Regions from separate parts of the Homo sapiens genome. Here all the other regions are linked to region 1. Evidence: promoter capture Hi-C in 16 types of primary human blood cells and fetal thymus (Javierre and others, 2016). All regions are on one chromosome and are shown on one strand. Each heading gives the region's core, a stretch centred on a gene start or on the middle of the fragment in contact. The rest is flanking DNA. Distances are from core to core; before and after follow the strand shown. Region 1 holds the start of CLASP1-AS1 (CLASP1 antisense RNA 1). Region 2 overlaps NIFK-AS1 (NIFK antisense RNA 1). Region 3 overlaps CLASP1 (cytoplasmic linker associated protein 1).

Region 1 (2,700 bases), core at 11-2,510:
ACTCATCTTTGCTCACAGCTCTACTCTCCTTGCTGAAGTCCATGAAAGTCACCAAAAGAGTCTGCAAAATCCTTTGCATGGACAGATACACTATTTGTCTTCCTCCTTACCCCACGTTCCTCCAGCCAGTTCCCAACGTATTTGTAAGCTGATAAAAATGGAAGACCTTGAGAGGAAGAGTCAACAGAAAGGAAAATTTAGGTAAAACACAAGGAGAGGGGCTCCAGTATATGTGTTTGGGGGTGGAAGGAGTGGGCACTTATGAATAAATCTTAAGTTTCATCACTATTGTGTATTTTTAGTTTTACATCACGCCCATACACACATGAGACAGAGCCCAGCTCTCCATCTTCCCCGACATACCCAGGGTGGACCCTCCCACCAGTGGTCCAAGTGCACCTGTAGACCAGAGATCAGCTTATTTTAAGAGTTTGTAAACCTCTATTACATGAGATATCCCTGAATAATTCAGCTAATTTAGGAGGAAAATGGAACACTATTAAAATATCAAATGTCTAAAAGTAAAAGCTTTTTTTAAATTTGTAAACAGTCGGTGCTCATGACCTTTTCAGAAGGAGCATATTGGTCGGAAAGTTAACAGTAAAGAATACATGTGTACCAACGTAAAACAGAGAAATTCCATAAGGAAATGGTTGCATAGAGATGCTTAGTGTTTATACTACCCCCATGAAACACCGGAGGTCAGGAATTTAGAGGTATTTAAATCTATGAAATCTGTGGGTTTTGTTTCATTTTGCTGACATACTGTTTTCCCTTCAAAATAAGAGTGAACATTTACTATACATTTGTAATGACATTTACAATCAAGGTGAAAATAGTCATGCCAACCATAATCATCTGGAGAAAAATACAACTGGCTTGGTTTTATAGGATTTCTCAAGGAAAACTGCCTCTCATTAAAGGGGACCGGGGTCAGGGTAAAATATGACTTGGTTGGCACTAAAGAGTGACAGCTAATTTAGCATAAGAAATAAAAATGGCACTAATATTTCATATTAGAACACGTATTACTAAGTTCCGTGTGAGAACACAGTGAAGCCAGTACAAAGGTATGGGGGAGGGTAAGGGCGCCCGCAGGCCCAGAGGCCAGGGGAGTCCAGCTGGAAGGGAAGGCAGCGGGGCGGCCGACCCAGGCTGCGAGTGCTTAGGGGGGCTGCGGGGGAGGGCGGGGACTGGCTGTTTGGGAGGAGCGGAAGGGAGGGAGAGGGGGCTGGAGGGGAGGCAGGGTGGCTGCCGGGAGGGTTTGGGAGCCGGGGAGGCCGAGGGAAGGCTGGGGGTCTGAAGGGGCCGGGTCCGCTCCACAAGTGCCGCAGCTCACCTGTGCCGATCTGCGCCTTGAACCGATCCTGCAGCCGGGTCACCAGGGCGGACAGGATGTCCATGCCCAGCAGAACCACCTGCAGCGGGAAACACCGGGAGCCTGTTAGCAGCCGGCCTGCGGGGCAGCGCTCCCGCCCACCCGCTCCGGGGAGGCCTAGACATTTCCGGCCCAGACGCAGTCCGAGAGTCCAGACGCATGCCGACTGGAGGACCAAAGAGATTAGCACGAAGAAGGATGATCTTCCACAAAAAGAGCTATGTACAGCTATAATGGAAAATACTCGGTGAGGAGAAACGAAATAAAAGGCAATACAGCGTAGCCAAACCCGGGTTAGCTGCGGGTGGAGTTCAAGAGCGCGCCGCGGTCCCGCCCCCGCCAGCCCCGCCCCGGCGAGAAAAGCGTATGCAAATTTTCGAGCGGCCGACGCGCGGTCTTCTGGGTAAAACCGAGCCGCCGCTTTTGCGACCCTTCGGGAGCCTCAGAAAACAAAGAATTGGGGTGTCGTCGAAAGCTGTGGAGGCTGGAGGTAAGCTAGCTACCAGACCGACTAGGGCGAGGCTCACGAATTAATTACCACAACCCTACCAGGTATTGGCGCTTCCTGCTTGCAGCCCAGGGACTTTCTATTATAACCATCCTTTTCTTGGGGTTGCGCTACTGTCCAATGAGCGCATAGTGAGGGCAGTACTGCTAACGCCTGAACAACACACCCGCATCAACTAGAGCTTTTGCTTTATTTTGGTGCAATTTTTGGAAAAATGAAAACCTGTTTTCATAGACTTATCAGTTCAAACAGCAGTAATTCGTAAATAAACTAGTACTTTGTGGTTAAACCAGTAGAGGGTGCACAAGACGCGTGGTTTTAGTGTCGCAAGTAAAGTTCTTTCAGTTTTTGCGGTGATTAAACGGGAAGGATTTCAACAGAACTTCACCCCTTTAACTTTACGCCGATCATCAACTGTTCTGTAACTTCCTTATGCTGAGTCAGCCCAGTAGTCTAGGTCAAGTTTCAATAGGAGACGAAGTTTCAGTAGGTCTTTGCACCTCACATAAAATGTAATCCAGGTCGGGCGCGGTGGCTCACGCCTGCAATCCCAGCACTTTGGGAGGCCGAGGGGGGCGGATCACGAGGTCAGGAGATCGAGACCATCCTGGCTAACACAGTGAAACTCCGTCTCTCCTAAAAATACAAAAAATTAGCCGGGCGAGGTGGCCGGCGCCTGTAGTCCCAGCTGCTCGGGAGGCTGAGGCAGGAGAATGGCGTGAATCCGGGGGGGTGGAGCCTGCAGTGAGCAGAGATCGCGCCACTGCACTCCAGCCTGGGCGACAGCGAGACTCCATCTCAAAAAAAAAAAAAA
Region 2 (2,700 bases), core at 150-2,649, 140 kb after region 1:
GAAAATTCTTCTTACAATAACAGCAAAAAGAATAAAACAGGAATAGATTTAGCAAAAGAAGTACAAGACTTGTACACTGAAAACTGTTGAAAGAAGTTAAAGAAGACCAAACAAAATCCCAGCCAGCTTCTTTGTACAAATTGACAAACTAATCCTACAATTAATATGGAAATGCAAGAGACCAAGAAAAGCCAAACTATTTTGGAAAAAAAAAATAACAAAGTTCCTGGAGGACTCACACTTTCTAATTTCAAAGCTACAATAATCAAAACTTACTACAAACCCAAAATAATCAAAACGGCATGGTATTGGCCTACATATAGACATATTGACCAATGGAATAGAATTAAGAGTTTATAAATAAACCCATACATCTGTGTTGAATTGATTTTCAACCAGGGTGCCAATTCGGTGAGAAACAAACATCCTTTCAACAAATGGCTCTAGGACAACTGGATAGCTACATGCAAAAGAATGAAGTTAGACCCCTTGCCTCACACCATATGTAGAAATCTACATGAAACTAAAACTGCTTTAAAAAATAGTCTATTTATTTAGAAACAGGGTCTTGCTCTGTCACCCAGGCTGGAGTACTCTGACACAACAATAGCTCACTGCAGCTTCAAACTCCTGGGCTCAAGTGATGCTCCTGCCTCAGCCTCCTGATAGCTAGGATTACAGACATATGCCACCATGCCCAGCTATTATTTAATTTTTTGTACAGACCAAGACTGGGTCTTGCCATGTTGCCCAGGCTGGTCTCAAACTGCTGGGCTCAAGTGATCCTCCCACCTCGGCCTCACAGCACACTGCTGCAAATTCCATGAGATGGGTGAAAAACTATGAGTTCCCAACATGTGAGAAGGGGGAAACCTGCCTCTGAACACACATCTCCACTGGGGAACCTCAAAACCCAGATTATGGAAGAAGGATTTAACCTTGCCTAGAGCTGAAATGGATTTAGTATAAAATATAAAAGTAGAAATAGTAGCAGGAAGAGCCTTGTAGGCGCTCCCATTCTCCAGCTTGGGCCAGGGAAGCCATCCCTGACTGTATCTCACCGAGGCCATTGAGGAAGACAGTTGGCAGAATTTGGGCAGGGTCGCAGGGTGAAATAAGCTTCCAACTGAACTGTGTAATAATTTTGACTGGGCGCAAACTCTGTCGAGCAGAAATCGGGGGTGAAAGTGAACTGCTGCAGAAAGGAGCATAGGAGCCACAGCTGACAGTGTGGGCAGACAGGGAGGGGCAAGGCCTGAAAGCCATGCTTGCTTTCTTAGTGGGGAAACTTATACCCTGGGGCTAGGTCTGAGTCCTGCACACCAGCTGCCTGGAGATAAACTGTGCTGTTAGCGGGGCACAGTGGGAGTGAAACTGGCCTTGCCAACTGTGTGGTAGCTGGGTGAGCCCTGTGGCTACTTACTTTCCCCCACTTCCCTGGTGACAGAGGCGCCATAATCCACACTGGAACATAACCCCATTTGCCTGAGAATCAGCCCCCTATCCCCCACAGTGGCTGTGGCAAAAAGAGTCTGAGCTCAGACCTGCCTAATCCTGCCCCAACCTGATGGTATTTCCCTACCCATCCCAGTGCCCAGTCACAAAAGACAAACTCTTGGGAGCTTTATGGCCCTACTTATCACATGAGAAACCTGAACACTTATCCTGACCAACTTAGGGCAAGCTTATATCCCCCTTCTACTATCACAGCTGGTGCTCTCCTGAACATACCACCTCCTGGCTGGAGGCCAACCAACTCAAGATATGACAGCAACTCATGACAAAATAACACTGCTCCAAGGAAGGAAAAAACAGCTAACTCCACTATCTGCAACATCCTGGCTAAACAGAGGTCCTGTCCATGTGGCAACATCACTGCTATCATAACCAGCATTTGAGAAAGCCAGCACACTAAACATCTACAACCAAGGCTTCTCATAGAGTCTATGTCACTACCCTGCCACCTCCCCCAGAGGAGGTGCTGGTATCCATAGCTGGGAGACCTGAAGATGGATTACATCACAACACTCTTTGCAGACACTCCCCAGCATGATCCTGGAGCTTGGAAGCCCCACTGGATGCCTAGACCCAGAAAAGCAATAACAATCACCACAGTCTGGCTCTCAGAAAGCCCCATCCCTAAGGAAAGGGGGAGTGCACCACATCACGGGATCACCCTGTGAGACAAAAGAATCTGAACAGCAGCCCTTGAGTTCCAGATTTTTCCACTAAAATAGTCTACCCAATAAGAAGAAATCAAAAACATAATTCAGGTAATATGACAAAACAAGGTTCTATAACACCCACAAAAGACCACACTAGCTTCCTAGCAATGGATCCAAACCCAGAAGGAATCTCTGAATTGCCACATAAAGAAGTCAGAAGGTTGATTATTAAGCTACTGAAGGAGATACTAGAGAAAGGTGAAAACCAACTTAAAGAAATGTAAAAATCAAGCCAGGTGCGGTGGCTCACGCTTGTAATCCGAGCACTTCGGGAAGCCAAGGCAGGTCACTTGAGGCCAGGAGTTTGAGACCAGCCTGGCCAACATGGCAAAACCCTGTCTGTACTAAAACAAAAACAAAAATTAGCCTGGCTTGGTGGTACATCCCTTTGGTCCCAGCTACTCAGGATGCTGAGGTGGAAGGATCACTTGAACATAGGAGGTAGAGGTTGCAGTGAGCCAAGATCATGCAACTG
Region 3 (2,700 bases), core at 55-2,554, 140 kb before region 1:
ACTTCTAGGTTTCTTCGCCACGCCTTTTTGCCCACACTTCTCAAAACAAGGTTTGGGGGCTAAATCTGTTGCTTCATTTGACAAAGAGAGTCACATGTGATAAGCAAACATACAGGCATTTTAAATTCCAAAATGTAAACATATAATTAAAATTCTACTGCCATTACCACATTCCCTTTGATTGATCACCTGGCTTCCTAAATCTTAGAAAAAATTCTGGTACTCAGTTTATTCCATAAATAACAGCAGCAGCAAAACCAAAACAATCCTCAAACAATAATAGCAGAGCTGCAACTGCAAATAAAATGTCTAAGTTTTAATATACTTTATGAAATTTAATCTTCTCAGTAATGCCTGAGATAAGTGTTATTTATGTATAGAGATAGGACTCTTCCTGTGGCTGCAAGCAATCCTCCTGCCTCAGCCTCCCATGAGGCTGGAACTACAAGCATGCGCCACCATGCCCAGTTTGAGGCAAGTATTATTATTCCGATTTTACAGATAATAAACAAGAACTCAGGGATTAAATTACTTGCTCTGACCCCAATGAGTGGCAGAGGCAGATGTCAAATGGATGTCAAACTCCAGAACCCACCTTCTTTCTATCAGTAATATATACTATTATCTTACATCAACACAGTGCATTAAGAAAGGTCTAGTGTACGTCTGCATAGTTTCATCACACAACTAAACTAGTCAGGGCTCCCACACTGAGAAAATGGAAAAGTTTACTTTTGGAATAAAGCAGGCTAGTTACAGACTGGGTTGGGCTTTTTCACCTTGCCCAAACCAGTCTCAGTGTGGTAAGCACACCTCACTCACTGGTGATTCGTTCGTGTTTTGATTTTAAAAACACCTTAACAATTTAAGCACCCCTCCCTCCAAAATGTGAAACACCCCAATATACTGAGCTAAGGAAAACAAAATATTAAAAATGCTAAAATCAATTAATCTGGGTTATATCAGCTTGTTATAAGTTTAAAATGCTTCAAAAGTGCTTTCACAAACATGGTTGTATGGACTTAGAGAATGAATTATGTTGTCTGAAAAGTCCCCAGGTACTGTTTACATAAAATATTCTCCAGAGATGAGTCTAATATGAGAATTTACTGTATAAATTTCAGACTGAAGGGCTCTTCTGTATTTGGAATACCTACCCTAAAAAAATTAAAGCAGGACATTCACAGAAGAACTTGGTTTAAGATCACAAAACGCTTTTAAATCACCAAGATTTCCTCAATCCCTGATATAACCTTTAAAAAACTCTGGAAATGAAGGATGAGGCAGAACAAAGTTTATTTATACAGACATGTATTTTATGTTTAGTGTGTTAAATGATCTAGATAAGAATGGTACTAGTTTTCATACAGTTTAAAATAATTTTAAATCTTATCAATTTTAGATCTTAGAGTAGTGATAAATACTACATCACAATTCTAAGTATTTTAATTTATTTAGGCACTACCTTCATTTTGACAGTGCTTCAAGAACGTCTCATATTCTTGGGTAAGGCAGCTGCATCACTTACAAAAGCAACTATATTTATAAATGTTCAACGGATGCTACATCAAAACAGGGAATTTAAATAAAAGTGAATCTACCTCCAAAAAGGATTAATCTGCAGTGCCCTAATGTAGAGTTTGAGGACATCTATTTTAATACTGTCCTATGATACATCTATTTGAATCAAAAGTAATGCTTTACTAGTTAGTGCTGAATGTTACTGAAAGCCAAATAGTTTAGAGCCACGGATATCTTGGATGATTAAAAAAAAAAAAAAAATCCAGAGGGTGCCAGAATACAGACATGCATCTGCTAAGTAAGTTGAACCACATCATAATTTGCATAGATAGGTAAAAAAGCGCCCTTCTAAAATAAGAGCCAAGGAATTATCGAATAACTATGGAAGCCTTCTGCCAACCCCCTAAAAGAGACACTAAAGCCCTGGTAGTCAAGACACTAAGACGGCCCCTAAGATTCCCCATAACGTATTACACCCTATATAACCTCTCCCACCCTTAGAGTGAGCGGGACTTGTGAATATAATGGATATCACTCCCATGATTGTGTTACACGGCAGAAGTGATTTTCAAAAATGTAATTGAGGCCCTTAATCAGTTGACTTTGAGTTAATCCAAAGGGAGATTATCCTGGATGGGCCTGACCTCATCAGGCAAGCCCTTAAAAGGCATCAGAGAGATTCAAAATGAGAGAGATTCTATGGCTGGTTTTGTTTTAATTTCTCCATTTCTGAAGAAGAGTTTTGCCAAACAGTGAATTCTTGGCTGAGCGCTTTCTTTCTTTCAGTACCTTCAATGTCATCCACTGCCTTCTGTCCTTTGTGGTTTCTGAAGAGAAATGAGCTGTTAATCTTATTGAGGAACTTGTGCATGGGATGAGTTTCTCCCCTCTTGCTGCTTTCAGGATTCTCTCTTTGGCTTTCAGCAATTAGATGTTATGTGTCTAGGTGTGAATCCTTTTATTAAAAAATCTTGGCTGGGCGCAGTGGCTCACGCCTGTAATCCCAGCACTTTGGGAGGCCAAGGTGGGCGGATCACGAGGTCAGGAGTTCGAGACCAGCCTGACCAACATGGTGAAACCCCTTCTCTACTAAAAATACAAAAATTAGCCGGGCATGGTGGTATGTGCCTATAATCCCAGCTACTCGGGAGGCTGAGGCAGGAGAATGGCGTGAACCCG

Evidence for each region. Contacts are between HindIII fragments. The CHiCAGO score rates a contact against its expected background, and 5 or more counts as called.
Region 2: a contact is called between a fragment that was not itself captured here and the fragment with the promoter of CLASP1-AS1 in region 1, in 6 of 17 cell types (total CD8 T cells, naive CD8 T cells, naive B cells and 3 more). The highest score is 8.5, in total CD8 T cells.
Region 3: a fragment that was not itself captured here is called in contact with the fragment with the promoter of CLASP1-AS1 in region 1 in 4 of 17 cell types (naive CD8 T cells, endothelial precursors, total CD4 T cells and 1 more); the score reaches 7.7 in naive CD8 T cells.

What each region holds. Positions count from the first base shown.
Region 1 is chr2:121,528,908-121,531,607 of GRCh38, forward strand. CLASP1-AS1 (CLASP1 antisense RNA 1) reads left to right here and starts at 1,261. Exons shown (of 2, transcript XR_001739683.2): 1 at 1,261-1,868. CLASP1 (cytoplasmic linker associated protein 1) reads right to left here. Exons shown (of 41, transcript NM_001395891.1): 3 at 1,340-1,418. RNU4ATAC (RNA, U4atac small nuclear) reads left to right here and starts at 1,973; the gene lies at 1,973-2,102. RefSeq lists a silencer at 1,131-1,330 and an enhancer at 1,521-1,650. The HindIII fragment of the contact is 3,511 bases long and covers 527-2,700 here.
Region 2 is chr2:121,668,625-121,671,324 of GRCh38, forward strand. All of the region lies in intron 2 of NIFK-AS1 (NIFK antisense RNA 1), which reads left to right. Among named protein-coding and RNA genes, the nearest start is that of NIFK-AS1, 20 kb to the left of the region's middle. The HindIII fragment of the contact is 565 bases long and covers 1,118-1,682 here.
Region 3 is chr2:121,392,106-121,394,805 of GRCh38, forward strand. All of the region lies in intron 31 of CLASP1 (cytoplasmic linker associated protein 1), which reads right to left. Among named protein-coding and RNA genes, the nearest start is that of TFCP2L1, 110 kb to the left of the region's middle. The HindIII fragment of the contact is 4,518 bases long and covers 1-2,700 here.